Regions from separate parts of the Homo sapiens genome. Here regions 2 and 3 are each linked to region 1. The links are contacts of gene promoters, found by promoter capture Hi-C in blood cells and fetal thymus (Javierre and others, 2016). All regions are on one chromosome and are shown on one strand. The core of a region is centred on a gene start or on the middle of the fragment in contact, and the rest is flanking DNA. Distances in the headings are between cores, read along the strand shown.

Evidence for each region. The method cuts DNA at HindIII sites, captures the fragments that hold promoters and counts their contacts. A CHiCAGO score of 5 or more calls a contact.
Region 2: the fragment with the promoter of PPM1D here is called in contact with the fragment with the promoter of BRIP1 in region 1 in 1 of 17 cell types (non-activated CD4 T cells); the score reaches 5.2 in non-activated CD4 T cells.
Region 3: a contact is called between the fragment with the promoter of BCAS3 here and the fragment with the promoter of BRIP1 in region 1, in 1 of 17 cell types (M0 macrophages). The highest score is 9.2, in M0 macrophages.

The regions. Positions count from the first base shown.
Region 1 is chr17:61,861,911-61,866,793 of GRCh38, forward strand. It overlaps BRIP1 (BRCA1 interacting DNA helicase 1), which reads right to left and starts at 1,618. Exons shown (of 20, transcript NM_032043.3): 1 at 1,374-1,618. It overlaps INTS2 (integrator complex subunit 2), which reads right to left. Exons shown (of 25, transcript NM_001351695.2): 25 at 3,457-4,883. The HindIII fragment of the contact is 2,381 bases long and covers 1-1,947 here.
Region 2 is chr17:60,598,281-60,603,163 of GRCh38, forward strand. It overlaps PPM1D (protein phosphatase, Mg2+/Mn2+ dependent 1D), which reads left to right and starts at 1,913. Exons shown (of 6, transcript NM_003620.4): 1 at 1,913-2,606. The coding sequence starts at 2,135. RefSeq lists enhancers at 846-1,834, 1,835-2,822, 1,983-2,032. The HindIII fragment of the contact is 9,172 bases long and covers 1-4,493 here.
Region 3 is chr17:60,674,820-60,679,702 of GRCh38, forward strand. It overlaps BCAS3 (BCAS3 microtubule associated cell migration factor), which reads left to right and starts at 3,032. Exons shown (of 24, transcript NM_017679.5): 1 at 3,032-3,095; 2 at 4,634-4,721. The coding sequence starts at 4,639. RefSeq lists a silencer at 2,412-3,165 and enhancers at 2,584-2,753, 2,924-3,073. The HindIII fragment of the contact is 12,302 bases long and covers 1-4,883 here.

The DNA.
Region 1 (4,883 bases), core at 368-2,867:
AGATTAAACATGAGCTCTTGTAACAGTTAGATCAGATGTAATCAACCTACAGAAACAAATAAGTTCCTGAGGCCTCTCTCTCTACAACTCCGTAGCATCACTCTTTCTCCAGTTCTTCCCCTTTGTGTTACCCCTTTCTGCAGTCCTCCAGTTAGAAGAAAAAAGCTGTTGACCAGAAGTCAGGAAGCATAGGTTCTATACCAGGTTTTGGTATACTGCCTGGTATGTTATCTTTGACTCAGGTATGTTATCTTTGACATATCTTTTTACTTCTCTAGTCTAAGATCCTTACCTGTGATAACCCCTAATTTAATTTAAAGGCTGTTATAAGAAAGAGAATGCCTTGGCACATAGTAGGCACTCAAAAATGTTATTTGAAGATCAGTAGAGTATTATAGAAACAGGATGGGCTTTGGAGTAAGGCAATCCTAAGTTTGAATTCCACTGTGTGAATCACTTAACTTCTCAGAGCTTGTTTCTCCATATATGGAATTGAAATACTACTACTTACCTGACAGGGTTTTTATGAAAATTAGCCAGGGCAGAATGTACCTAACCCAGGATCTGATACAGATGAGGATCACTTTAATCCTCACCTCTTCTAAACCACTTTTCTTAACCTAGGATCCACGGATGTAATTCAGAGACAATGACCTCTTGAAATTGCAAGCATAAGTTTCTGTACATGATTGCATTTTTCTGAAGAAAAAGTCCATAGATTTCTCTTCCCGTAAATATATCTCAAGGAAATCAAAATAGCGGGGGAAATTACATGCACTGTTATTAAATAAGGAATTATTTGCAGTCGTGGGAAAAAATTGTAAATTCAACCTGGGGACGAAGAGATGGTTAAAATAGCAATTCAATAGATTATGAAGCCAATAATAACATTCACCACTGCTTGTGTGCTCCAAAAGAAGAACCATTATTCTAGGGTATTTTCCAGCTCTAACATTTTGCGATTCTATCTGTAAAGCTCTGAGAATGAGGTATGGTGGAATCTAACCTCTTAATATGAATCAACAACTCAACGCTGGCCTAGTTACTCAGATATAATCTAGAAATCAGCCCGTCCTGTACCCCGGCTGTGGCAACAATAGTGTCAAAATGGGGTAGCTTCCCCCAAACATTGCATAAAGGATAAACACACCCCTCTGCCTCCCGCCAAGAATTAACGCAGCGCCCGGGCTAAGAACAGGCCTGCGCTCAAAGGAGGTAAGGATAGGCTCCCTCCTCAGGTTTTCTGCCCCGTATCTCCCTCCTCCCCCAGCCAGTTGAGATCCCCGAGACCCTGGTGATCCAGTCACCACCCATGGGCCCGCAGGCTGTGCAGAAGAACTCAAGCCCTTTCCGTGGACTTCCCTCCGACTTGCCTGTCTGGAGGGAAACCGAAGCAACGCTCTGAGCTCCGATTCACTGAAGAAAAGGAAAGGAAACCGACTTCTGAGAGCAAATAAAGCGGAGCCCTGGAAGAGAAGAAAGGGCACGAGCCCTTCCTCCTCCCTCTTCCTGGGGGTGCTGCTACTTCCCCGGCCTTGTGTGCAGGACTGGGGCCGCCGTTACCTTTCCTCGACCCACCAGACCCCTCAACCACACAACCCGAGACGAATTCCCGCCTCCCGCCCCCTCGACTCCCAGCGCCCAATAGCCCAGCGAGCTCGACCAATCACCCGCCAAGGCCAGGAATCAACCAGTCCCGGTGCGAGGTGAGGGGGCGAGAACTTCGGCATCCAATGGAAGTCTCCGAAAAAAAAAAAAAAAAACAAGGGCTCAAGGTACGCGGCGGAAGGTTGTCGCCACTCCAGCAAATCCCTAGTGTTTGTTTAAAGTAGAAAGTCGTCTCAGTTTGACTTTTGAAACCGGCGATAGAGTCTATGCAGCAAATTCCTTGGAAACTGGAAGTCTCATTCTTCACGTCCGTAGACCAGCGGAAAGGAAGTATCTTTAAGCTTTGCCAAGTTCTTTGAGCATTTATCAGTGCCACTCAATTTAAATTACCCAGCTTTGCAGTAGCCAGGATAGCGAAGACTCAGGCGGGAATTGCCAGACTGCTGAGCCAAACTTAAGTAAGAAGGCTCTGTGACATCGGGCTACAATCTATCTTTCATAATATTCAAGGCTTTCCCGGATGCTAAAATAAGCCAGAGACAAGCTCTCAGGGTCTCCAGTATCAGATCACTTCTACTTCCATTAAGGCTTATCCGCCTTCCATCCCTCCTAAGACCAGTTTATTATTTGCCAGTAGTACTTTAATTTACTCAAAGAAAAGGAGGTTCATCATGATCTTGCCAAATCATGTTATTTTTTTAAAAAATCTGTATAACCTAAACTTGGCTCAAATAATAATGTCTCCAAAAGGCAAAACCTCATACTGTTTCTCAAATTCAAGTAACTAGTTTGGGGAAGGAGTTTGCTGGGAAGAAAGAGCAGGAGGGGGCTAGTTGATTTGTTTGCCTCATTGTCAATTGTGATATATCTTACCAAAAATGACAAAACTTGTAGTCATAAAAATAAACTCTACCCTTTGACCTAGTAATCTGAGCTCCAGATATTTATCCTAAAGACGTAATCTAAACGAAAGAAAATGTGATACCGCAATTGACAATAATATCTATTGGTAATACTGAAAAAAATTATGAACTTCCCAGTCTAGTAATATGGAGGTGGTTATGACAGATGAATTCAATACATTATGAAGCCAATAAACTTATAAAAATTAAACTTGCAAGAAAAAATCCCATATAAGGTTAAGTGAAAAAAGGCAAAGCAAACCCCAAACTGGGTGTTAGGGATTCAGTAATGTGAAAATACATATGAATGAGCAAAGATGAAGTAATTTACTGTTAAGACAATGAAAGGAAGGATAATGTTTAAAAATAAATCCTTAAAAATACCTTCAAATTGTCATTTCTCTTTTATAATTTTTAAAACATCAACTCTTGGCCGGGCGCAGTGGCTCACGCCTGTAATCCCAGCACTTTGGGAGGCCGAGGCAGGCGGATCACCAGGTCAGGAGACCAAGACCATCCTGGCTAACACGGTGAAACCCCGTCTCTACTAAAAATACAAAAAATTAGCCGGGCGTGGTGGCGGGCGCCTGTAGTCCCAGCTACTCGGGAGACTGAGGCAGGAGAATGGCGTGAACCCAGGAGGCGGAGCTTGCAGTGAGCCGAGATGGCGCCACTGCACTCCAGCCTGGGAGACAGAGCGAGACTCCGTCTCAAAAAAAAAAAAAATCAACTCTTTTGAGTAACTGCTCTAGTATAACTACTCTCATTTTCCTCTCCTAAATTACTAAGAGTTTCAACTGGCTCTCACCTTGCATTGCCATTTAATGTATGTGGCATAACAGAAAGGGATACACGTAGGCCCTGGAGCCATACAGACCTCGAATACAGTCCCTTGAACCGTTCCCTTCAGGTTAACTCTAGTGGAATGAAACACAAAAACTACAGGTTCGTTTGATAAAGAATATGAATGTTTATAAACCAATATTCAAAATAGCTGCACACATCTGTTTTCACTTGAATAAAAAAACACATTGTGACAAATTTTATAACCTTAACTTAAAATACATGAATATTAACATTTACTAATATATTTACACATTTTATTTACATCATCAACAAATCTGATGAAAAAGAGCATATGTGATTATTTTAACACAGCAGGTTATGACCAGTCTTTGAATATTGATCCAGGAATGTGCACTGCATTTAATTAGAAAACATACTTTTAACTTTTTCTGAACTCCTAGGGCATATCTATTCACACAAAATATCGCAAGGCCTCAGTTTAAAAAAAAAAGGAGCAGTTGTATTTAATCTTAAGGGACTACAAAACTGCCTTGTTTAAAAATATGAAAATTCTTATGCTATTTTTAAGATACTTTTATTACTTTTATTTTTCACATCAAAATTACTTAATTGAACATTAAGCATCTAATAAAAAGTTATAAATATTCTATCACATGTGATACTATGCACTTCATGATTTGAAACAGCTACAAACTCATTCTCATAGAATATGAGGTAGGGCCAGTAGTAACCCCATTTTACAAAGGAAGAAAATGAGATGTGACTATTTACTAGTGAAAAGGCTAAAGTTAAATTTCATTTCTCAAAAACTACACCTTCTTATTAGCCTAATTTCTTTTACAAGTGAAGCGGTCTGGCCAGGTGCGGTGGCTCACACCTGTAATCCCAGCACTTTGGGAGGCCAAGGTGGGCAGATCACCTGAGGCCAGGAGTTCAAAACCAGTCTGGGCAACATGGCAAACCCCCGTCTTTACTAAAAATACAAAAATACAGGTGGCGCGTGCCTGCAGTCCCAGCTACTCAGGAGGTTGAGGCACGAGAATCCCTTGAACCCAGGTGGCAGAAGTTGCAGTGAGCCAAGATCATCCCACTGCACTCCAGCCTGGGCAACAGGGGAAGACTCCACCTCAGGAAAAAAAAAAAAAAAACACAAGTGAAGAGGTCTGTTTCAAGTGGGGGTGGGGAAGTGTGTGATTGAGGTATATCTCAGAGAGAAAAAAGGGAATTACTTTCTACATTGATAATTTTTTTTTAATGATTAGGGTTTACCTGAATATGTCTGCCTAATCAATGGAAGTTACTGACAGAGGACTGCAAAATCCTTCGGCAAGACAATATTTTCTACACTTTAACTTTTCCTCAGGTTCAAACACTGCATTTTCTTACTCAAAGATCTTCTCAAAGTAAGATATGAATTATAATCCTGATGACAAACCAAGAGCTCTTTAATCCAGTGGGTTTTATTGCTCTACCTTCATTTAATTTGATACATATTTCCCCCCTCTGAGCATTAGGTAAGTTAATAAAGCATTATAAAAATAAATTTAAAACATAAAACTAAATGAG
Region 2 (4,883 bases), core at 663-3,162, 1.3 Mb before region 1:
TCTCAGAGTAGCAGCAGTCTGCATAAATTTTAAAAGCACTTGAGTTTCTGAGGGAGGAAGGAAGAGAAGTGGTTTGGAGGTAATATGAGGAATAGGCCACAGATAAGAATACCTATGAGAGGAAAAATAACCTCCTGTACTTGAAAAGTTGCAAGGGAGGTAGTTTTGCTAAGTGATAAACCGGGTTTCAGTTGGAATGGGAAGTTGATGGGAACATTTACAGAAGAGGCTAAGAATAAAGGGGAAGTGGTTGATGGCAGATGTTGAAATCAAAAGTGTGAAGTGAAATGGTTAGGATATTTGGTGAAGAGTGGGATATGGAATCAGAGTAATTGAAGCAGAGAGTAGCATGGAGATACTAGAGCAATAAACGGATGACGCAGATCCTACTGGTTGTGATTGAGGTGGAAAGGATTATAAAGCATGATGGAATTATCTTTTGGTAATCTCTTGGGTCAAACGTGGTGAACGGTAAGATGAATAATATAGAGCTACACAAACCGTTCTTGTGATATGGAGGCTGCTCCCTAATTACAATGCTAATATTTCATTTAGGATTTTTGTATTCATCGTTACAAAACAGGGTCTGTAGGTTTCCTTTTAGTGTTCATAATGCTTAGGTTTTACTAACAGGGTTATGATTACCTCTCCAAACAAGCTGGGATTTTTTTTTTCAAGCGTTTCCATGCCCTGGAACCATCTGGTCTAGTGCTTTTTGGGGTAATGAATATCTTCAATTGTATTTATTTTTACTTAGTTGATCTATTCAGATTTTCTACATTTTCTTGAGCTGATTTTGCTTATTTATATTTTTATTGATATAAAGATTTTTTCTATTTTTATTTCTTGTGCCAACTGTATGTACATTCCCCCCATTCCCGTTTCCATACTGTTTTTAGGCCATTTGAAAATCTCAAAGGTTTTACAGGAAAGTACAGATTGATGAAGAAATGGCCAAAAACGGGAAAAGTGAACTTTAAAGTGATTCAACTACAAAACGTATGCTACTGAGCAAATACTAGTGTATTCCTCGCTCTGCGGCTTAACTCCATGAAAATCCGTGCAAAGGTTTTAGCGTTGGGATTGTGACCGACTCGGTGAAGAGAGGGGACGATCACCAAACCGTTAGAGCACTGGGGCTCTTGGCAGTGTTTGTCAGTTATTTTCAAGTGATAACTTGAAGTGATACCGCAGGAATAAAATGCTGTATCCAGAGCTGGTCGGAACGAGCACTACCTTTAACAAAAGCTGAAAAGATCTGCCTAGGAATTCGTTAGAATACAGCCCTCTTACGTCTCTGACATACCTAGTTATGTGAACCGAGACTGTGCAGCTGACGGTGGAAATTTCCTAAGTGCTTTTTAAACAACAGAACTGGACTCCCTCCCTCCTCCATTCCCAGTCGAATACGTCCCACCCAGATCCAGCTCAAGGGTGCAGCACTTGTTCCGGCCAGCTCACAATCGCCCTTTGGAAGGGAGGTTTCCCGCCATTTCGCTTAGGAGGAGGGTGAACTCTTCTCCCTTCATTCTCCACTCGCTGGGGGCCCGAGCCCACACCACCTTCCTAGCAAAGCAAGCAGCGGGACGCCAAGGCCAGCAGGCCGCATTAAGAACGCTGGACTGAGCCAAAAGCCTACACAGACCAAGCCGCTCGGGAAAGGATCAACAACTGCCGACAACCCGGAGGGCGAAAACGCCCGCGGCGTAGGGGAAGCAAACTAGGAGATGCGCGGGCCCAGCGCCAGCGGCGGGAGGAGGCAGCGCGGCCGTCGCAGGCGGGAGCGAAGGCGGGGACGGAGGGCGGGCTCGCTCCACTCGACTCCGGATTGGTCGAGCTTAGAGAGCCGAGTGACGTCAGCGGGGGAGAACGCCTGATTTGTGTGGTGGGCGCGGGCGGTGGGGGGAAGCGCAGTGCGCAGGCGCAACTGCCTGGCTCTGCTCGCTCCGGCGCTCCGGCCCAGCTCTCGCGGACAAGTCCAGACATCGCGCGCCCCCCCTTCTCCGGGTCCGCCCCCTCCCCCTTCTCGGCGTCGTCGAAGATAAACAATAGTTGGCCGGCGAGCGCCTAGTGTGTCTCCCGCCGCCGGATTCGGCGGGCTGCGTGGGACCGGCGGGATCCCGGCCAGCCGGCCATGGCGGGGCTGTACTCGCTGGGAGTGAGCGTCTTCTCCGACCAGGGCGGGAGGAAGTACATGGAGGACGTTACTCAAATCGTTGTGGAGCCCGAACCGACGGCTGAAGAAAAGCCCTCGCCGCGGCGGTCGCTGTCTCAGCCGTTGCCTCCGCGGCCGTCGCCGGCCGCCCTTCCCGGCGGCGAAGTCTCGGGGAAAGGCCCAGCGGTGGCAGCCCGAGAGGCTCGCGACCCTCTCCCGGACGCCGGGGCCTCGCCGGCACCTAGCCGCTGCTGCCGCCGCCGTTCCTCCGTGGCCTTTTTCGCCGTGTGCGACGGGCACGGCGGGCGGGAGGCGGCACAGTTTGCCCGGGAGCACTTGTGGGGTTTCATCAAGAAGCAGAAGGGTTTCACCTCGTCCGAGCCGGCTAAGGTTTGCGCTGCCATCCGCAAAGGCTTTCTCGCTTGTCACCTTGCCATGTGGAAGAAACTGGGTAAGTTCCCTGGCTTGTTTGGCGCCCGCCCCTTTTTCAGGCAGTTCAGGGCTTTTATGGCACCAGCCCCGCGTGGGCCCCCGGCACCCAGAGCGCAACCAAAGTATACACTGATGGAAGTGACTAAAAGCTGTAATAGCGCTTTGCTGGGTGGAGGTCCGGGCAAACCAAGCGGCCTTGGGGAAGATAGGATTGCCGTCTCCCTGCAGCCTATTCTTGCTTTATTTCCATCCTCCAAGGATCAATGGGAAGCAGTCCACTCCCTTCCCTGCTTCACTTTGGTGGCAACCAGAGGAAACGTGTTTGAAACCTGGCGCCAGATTTTGGCCAAAAGATAAATCGATGTTGCACCTGGGCCAGGCGAAGGAAAAACTGTAGTGTTTCCTTAGAGAATCTGTCATAATTCTGCTCCTGAAAGTCTTATCCCTCTCGGTTGCCTCCTACCGGTGGTGTCAGTTCTCCAGATTGACCCGGGATTGCTGGGGTTGGTTGCTGGAGTAAAGCGTAAGCTAATTTAGAAGGGCTGAAACGTAACCATCCGGCAACTTAAAGTTTTGGAAGGAATTCCGTTGTAATGATGGTGAGATGTTTTTAGGATCATAAACCTGTACTGCTTATGAAAACTAAAAACGCGGAACGTGTTGTTACCTCTTAAAAACTGGCCCCGTGTTAAGGGTGTGCGTTAGATTCTGCTTGGGTTTTCTTTTTGGAAATTGCCTTAGCTGATTGCTTTCAGATAGTTCCCAACCGGTTGTTCCTAGTTTAAAAAGTACTTATAAATTGTAACTGCCCATCAAAATAAGAAAAGGCAAGGAATTACTGTATGCTAGAAGGAAATAAAGGTCTTAAATGTCTAAAAATTTCGGTGTAGTTGTAGTTTCATCTAAGTTTTTTTAAATGTTTGTAAAGCAGGCAGGATTTCTGTGCCCAACATTTACAGAATCATCTTACAGCATTATAATTGCTTATCTATTGCAGTGAATAAATGGCATGCATCTTTGTTAGAGCAAAGAAGACAATACTTCCAGTGGTGGGAAAAAACCTTGTTTATGGCAGCATAATAACGTTGCTTTATTTTCAGCAGAGGGATAGAGACATAGAGAAAAGAGTTAGATTTAGCAAATACAGAACATTTTTAGAAAGGTATTGTCATAGAGTTGTAGATTAGCCGGTTTCAAAGTCTGTTTTCCATTTGCTTGGCTTTCTGCCAAGAGTTAGTTGATTGACTCAAAAACCAGCCACTAGGCTTGTTGGAGGCGTTTCCCATCCATCCCAGGGGCCCCTCTTTATGGATTTATTTTGTTTTTGTGTAGGCACCGTAGAGCTGAAAGCACTGTAGTGTATTGTAGAAATATGTGATATCATTGACTGCAGGGCAACGAGAAGTCGACAGCAGCACAAGAGAGGAAGACTAGGCACAGAACTATTTAGAGTGCTGTTTATTTTGCAGTATACTTGGAGTAACATGAATTTGCCATATGTTTGAACTTTAAGGATAAAAAATCTTTAAGGTATAAACTCCGTTACATTAGTATTAAATTTTTTTTTTTTTAAGAGACGGGCAGGGGCGGGGGACGGGTGTGGGCCGCCTTACTTTGTTGCCCAGGCTGGGCAACAAGCGATCCTGGGCTCAAGCGATCCTTCCTCCTCGGCCTCCGAAAGTGCTGGAATTACAGGCGTGAGCTACCCTGCCGGACCTTCAGGAACATTTTTTAATAAAGCAGGGGCCATGCTGTTAAATGTAAATATGTATGGTTTAGTTTTACATACACAGACTTTTCGAATTAAGCTGTCACTCTTATGATGCATAAAGTTTAGAGCCTTATACTCCAGAAAAATGTTAAAGTTTGTTTTGTACCACAGCTAGACCTCAGACTTCGTCCTCAAAGCTTGAAAAAAAAAAAAAAAAAAAAAGTATGCTAATTATTTTGGGAGTCTTGACAAAGGAAACGAAGGTTTAAATTTTTTTTTCAATCACAAATTCTTGGATGGCTCCACATTTTCTGTAAAGTAAACTGTAGTTTGCAATCTGCAGGCCAACCCCTTTCCTGTACATATTCAGCCTCTCCAGTAAATTATATTTGTTACACGAATTTCCATTACATTAGTCTCTACTCACCTTTTTTCAGGACACATGGAAATACTCCATTTCCATTTTCTTGGATTCTGCCTCTCTCACCCTGCCCCCCCAACAAGGAAAACTCAAACAAAAATATATCCATCATGTAGATTCCCAGTCAGTATGTTTTCTTCTGTGAAGACTACTTTCTTTTGGAA
Region 3 (4,883 bases), core at 1,782-4,281, 1.2 Mb before region 1:
TCCTCTTGCTAGCTACAGAGCGTTGATTGGTGCGTTTTTACAGATCACTGAATGGTGCATTTTACAATCCCCTTGCTAGCTACAGAGTGCTGATTGGTGCACCTTACAATCCCCTTGCTAGCTACAGAGTGCTGATTGGTGCGTTTTCCAATCCTAGCTACAGAGTGCTGACTGGTGTGTTTTACAATCCTCTCCTAAGACAGAAAAGTTCTCCAAGTCCCCACTCTACCCAGGAAGTCCAGCTGGCTTCACCTCTCACCTTCATCCTGTAACCGAGTCCTAACTTGTTCTGCTCACTGCATGACAGCCAAGGGGTGAAGAGTCAAGGAGTTAGAGCAAGGATAGTAACTTTATTTCTGAGAGCTAGCAAACCCGGAAAATTGCAGAATAATGTACTAAAGAACCATCTTTTTGGCTGGGCATGGTGGCTCACGCCTGTAATTCCAGCACTTTGGGAGGCCAGGGCGGGTGGAACATGAAGTCAGGAGTTCAAGACCAGCCTGGCCAAAATGGTGAAACCCCGTCACTACTAAAAATGCAAAGAATTAGCCAGGAGTGGTGGCGGGTGCCTGTAATCCCAGCTACTCAGGATGCCGAGGCAGAAGAATCGCTTTAACCCGCGAGGTGGACGTTGCAGTGAGCCAAGATTGAGACACTGCACTCCAGCCTGGTGACACAGTGAGACTCCATCTCAAAAAAAAAAAAAAGTTGGAGTCTTGCTCTGTCGCCCAGGCTGGAGTGCAGTGCCTTGATCTTGGCTCACTGCAACCTCCACCTCCCGGGTTTAAGTGATTCTCCTGTCCCAGCCTCCCGAGTAGCTGGGACTACAGGCGCACACCACCACGTCCAGCTAATTTTTGTATTTTTAGTAGAGACGGGGTTTCTCCATGTTGGTCAGTCTGGTCTTGAACTCCTGATCTCAGGTGATCCACCTATTTCGGCCTCCCAAAGTGCTGGGATGAGAGGTGTGAGCCATCACACCCAGCCTGAAGAACCATCTTAAGTTAGTACACATTTCAGGCTCTTTTTGTGTTAAGGGCAGGGGGAAGAAGAGAGGGTTTGAATCAAGGGGTGACTGATGACCGTAGACATCTGGGCGCCAGCAAGGGTTCCTCGAGGCCTGAAGCCTCTCTGTTACTGGTCAGGTCACAATACTTTCTCAAACTCTCAACATTGTTACTTGTGTGTACACCCTCCTTTTCTCCTTGGGGGTTAGTTTTGGGAAGGGACTATTATCATCCTTGCTTTAAAGTTAAACTATAAATTCCTCCCTTGGTTAGCTTAGTCTATGTGCAGAGATAAGCAAAAGCAGTTAACTTAGATATCACCGATGGGTGGGAGTGGGGAGTTTAGGAGCAAAATGGAGTTAGTCATGCTAGGCCTCCTTTTCAATGTTACAATTCCACATTATCAAGTTATTTCAATCCCACATTATCAAGTTATTTCAATATTTCCAAATATATTCTTCTTCTTCTTCTTCTTCTTTTTTTTTTTTTGAGCGAGAGTTTTGCTCTGTCGCCCAGAGGCTGGAGTGCAGTTGCACGATCTCGGCTCACTGCAACCTTCACATCTCGGATTCAAGCGATTCTCCTGCCTCAGCCTCCTGAGTAGTTGGGATTACAGGCGTGCACCATCAAAACCCGCTGATTTTTGTATTTTTAGTAGAGACAGAGTTTCACAAAGTTGGCAAGGCTGGTCTTGACCTCCTGACCTCAAGTGATCTGCCCCTCTCAGCCTCCCAAAGTGCTGGGATTACAGGTGTGAGCCACCGTGCCCGGCCTTTTCTTTCATTTCTTTTTTTAAAATTTTTTAAAATTTTATGTATGTATGTATGTATGTATGTATGTATGTATGTATGTATGTATCTATCTATCTATCTATCTATCTATCTATCTATCTATCTATCTGTCTTGAGAGGGACTCTCTGTCACCCAGGCTAAAGTGCTGGAGGGCAATGGCGTGATCTATAGGCTCACTGCAATCTCCGCCTCCTGGGTTCAAGCAATTCTTCCGCCTCAGCCTCCCCAGTAGCTAGGATTACAGGCATTGGCCACCACACCTGGCTATTTTTAGTAGAGACGGGGTTTCTTCATGTTGTCCAGGCTGTTCTAGAACTCCTGGCCTCAAGCGATCTTCCCGCCTAGGCTTCCCAAAATGTTGGGATTGCAGGCGTGAGCCACCACGCCCAGCCCACCACGCCTGTTAATAAGCTATACCCTCACGGACCTGTCATTGGCATTAAATTTGATAATACATTAGAGTATTGTATATGAAGTATACGAAGGCCTGTGCTGAGTGTTCAAGAAGTCAGTCAGTATTATTCTACTTATATTAATAAATGAACTGATGAAATGACAATGGCGAGATCTCGATCTTCAACAATAAGGGAGATGGAAACTGAAGCAAGAAGTGGTCTACAAACCTAGCTCAAATTGTTGAGATTACCGGCCGTGCCCCTTATTCAGATCAACCCCTCCTCGGCTGATCGCCGGCGCGAGCCAGCCTAGGCTCCCGGAAGGTAAACACATCGCCAAGGGCTGGGCAGAAGGCGGGTGTGGGACGGGTGAGTGGCCAGCTAAAAGTGATTGGCAGCTGCCATGTCCACGTGCTCCGAGCTTGGAACCAGCTGTCGCGAGAATTCGATGTAAACAGACCAGTCTCCCTGTCCTCCGGCTCCAACCTGAAACGCTCACGTGAGCGGGACAGGAGTCTGGATCATGTTGCTTTTCTTTTCAAAGCCACGAAGGTTCTGTCTTCCAAAAAAAATGTACATGTTCGTAATTATTCCCCAGCTGCCTGCGTTTGCAACCGAACCTGACACCTCGGCTTCACCCGAACTTACATGCTGTTGTGTTTTCCCTCCAGCCCCAGCGGATTGGACACATTCAGAAGGCGGGTCCGCCTCTTTCCTACTTGCTGGTTGGCGAAGCTGACCTCCAAGGGCGGTGCCCGGCCATAGCCGGTTTGCTTCTGGGATTGGCTAGAGGGGGTGGTTCCGCTGAGGCGTGGTAGGAAGTGGCTGCCGTCAATCACTCGGGGAGACTCCAAACAGTGAGCCTAGAGCTGGAGACTAGCGTTAACCGGCGGGGCGGCCGGTGAGAGGGCTGGCAGGGCTTTGGCTTTGGGGAGGCTTGGGGAGGACGAGGGACTGGCGGCGTGAGGGGACTGGGTCGGGCTGGCAGGAATTCGACAGGAGAGAGGTGTCGATACTGGAGGGGGAGGGGAACAGTGCAAGGGGCCGGAGGGCGGCCGGGGGCAGCGGTGGCTCCGTGTTGGAGGTTAAGTGGGCAGCGCCGTACGAGTGTCTTTCAGGAGACTGGGGCCTGAGTGGCTGGCGAGGGTCGTCCCCAGGAGACAGGGCCCTTAAAGGGCAGGGCTTGGGAGACTGTGGTTCGAGAAAGCAAGAATGGGATGAGAATGAGAGGGCTGAGGGGCTGGAGGTGCAGGTATCCTCTGAGGAGGTGGTGGCTCTGCTCCTTGGGGCAGAGGGTGTTTTGGTTGTAGGAGGTGGGGCGCACAGGTTTAGAGTTTTCACATCAGGTGTGAATGCTCCCTACTTAAAAATGGTTTTCGGTGCCTTCAAGATGAGTTCCAGGTTGTGGGCTTCCCTGAGCCCTGTAAGAGATCTTTGATATTGCTGTCAGTCCTCTTTTAACCTTAACCAAGCCGACTCCATGCTCTTAAAATCTCAGTGATTCAGAGGGTCATGAAACATTCTAGGATCAGGATTTACTGATGTGACGGGAAAGGGTAAAGGGCTGTAACAACGTATTAGTTTATGTTAGTTATTTGACTACTTGCTACTAGTCAAATAATTACTTGACTTATTTGTTATAGTAGCAGGGGGTTACGAATGTGATTTAAATTGTGATTTACTCATAGATTCCCAACAGGTTTAATTGGAAGGTAGAGTGATATCATGTCACTTGTTCCGTTTGGTCTTGAAATATTGTACCATGTGTATTTTCACTATCTCAACATAAAATTGCAGTAAATTCCCATCCCATGATCTGGTTCTCTCACCCTTGTAATTTATGTTAACAACAGACCAAGGGGTACAGCAGGAGTCTTCCTTACATTGTTTTGTGGTTCTGAGACCTGGTCCTATTAAAAAACAAAACAGGATGGGCGCGGTGGCTCAAGCCTATAATCCCAGCACTTTGGGAGGCTAAGGCGGATGGATTGCTTGAGCTCAGGAGTTCGAGACCAGCCTTGGCAACATGGTGAAACCCCGTCGCTACAAAAAAATATAAAATTTAGCTCGGCATGGTGGCGCTCGCCTGTAATCCCAGCTACTCAGGAGGCTGAGGCAGGAGAATTGCTTGAGCCTGGGAGGCGGAGATTGCCATGAGCAGAGATCGTGCCACTGAACTCCAGCCTGGGCGACAGAGCGAGACTCTATCTCAAAAATAATAATAACCCCCCAAACCCCTCATTATAATTTGAAAAAAATTAAAAACCTACTTCCTCCTTTTTTCCCTTTCTGGTGTAACAGGAATTTCTGGGAAAGTTTCCTACATTTGAGGCATTTTTGACAAGGGATCTCTAGTGAGTAATCATAAATCTTCCTCCCTACCCCCAACAACGATCCATGTTTTTCTGTTTTTTGTTTGTTTGTTTGTTCTGGAAACAGGTTTTATGAATGAAGCTATGGCTACAGATTCCCCAAGAAGACCCAGTCGTTGTACTGGTGGAGTTGTGGTTCGCCCCCAGGCTGTCACGTAAGCACATTTCAGATAAACCCAATAGCTGAAGAAAAGATTACTCAGAATACTAACATTTAGGTTTTCTTTATGAACAGTGGTTACTTTTGTAAAAATCTTTTAACTGTTGGCTTTATGGGATGAATAATAATAATTGCCAAGACCAAATGAAGAATTGGA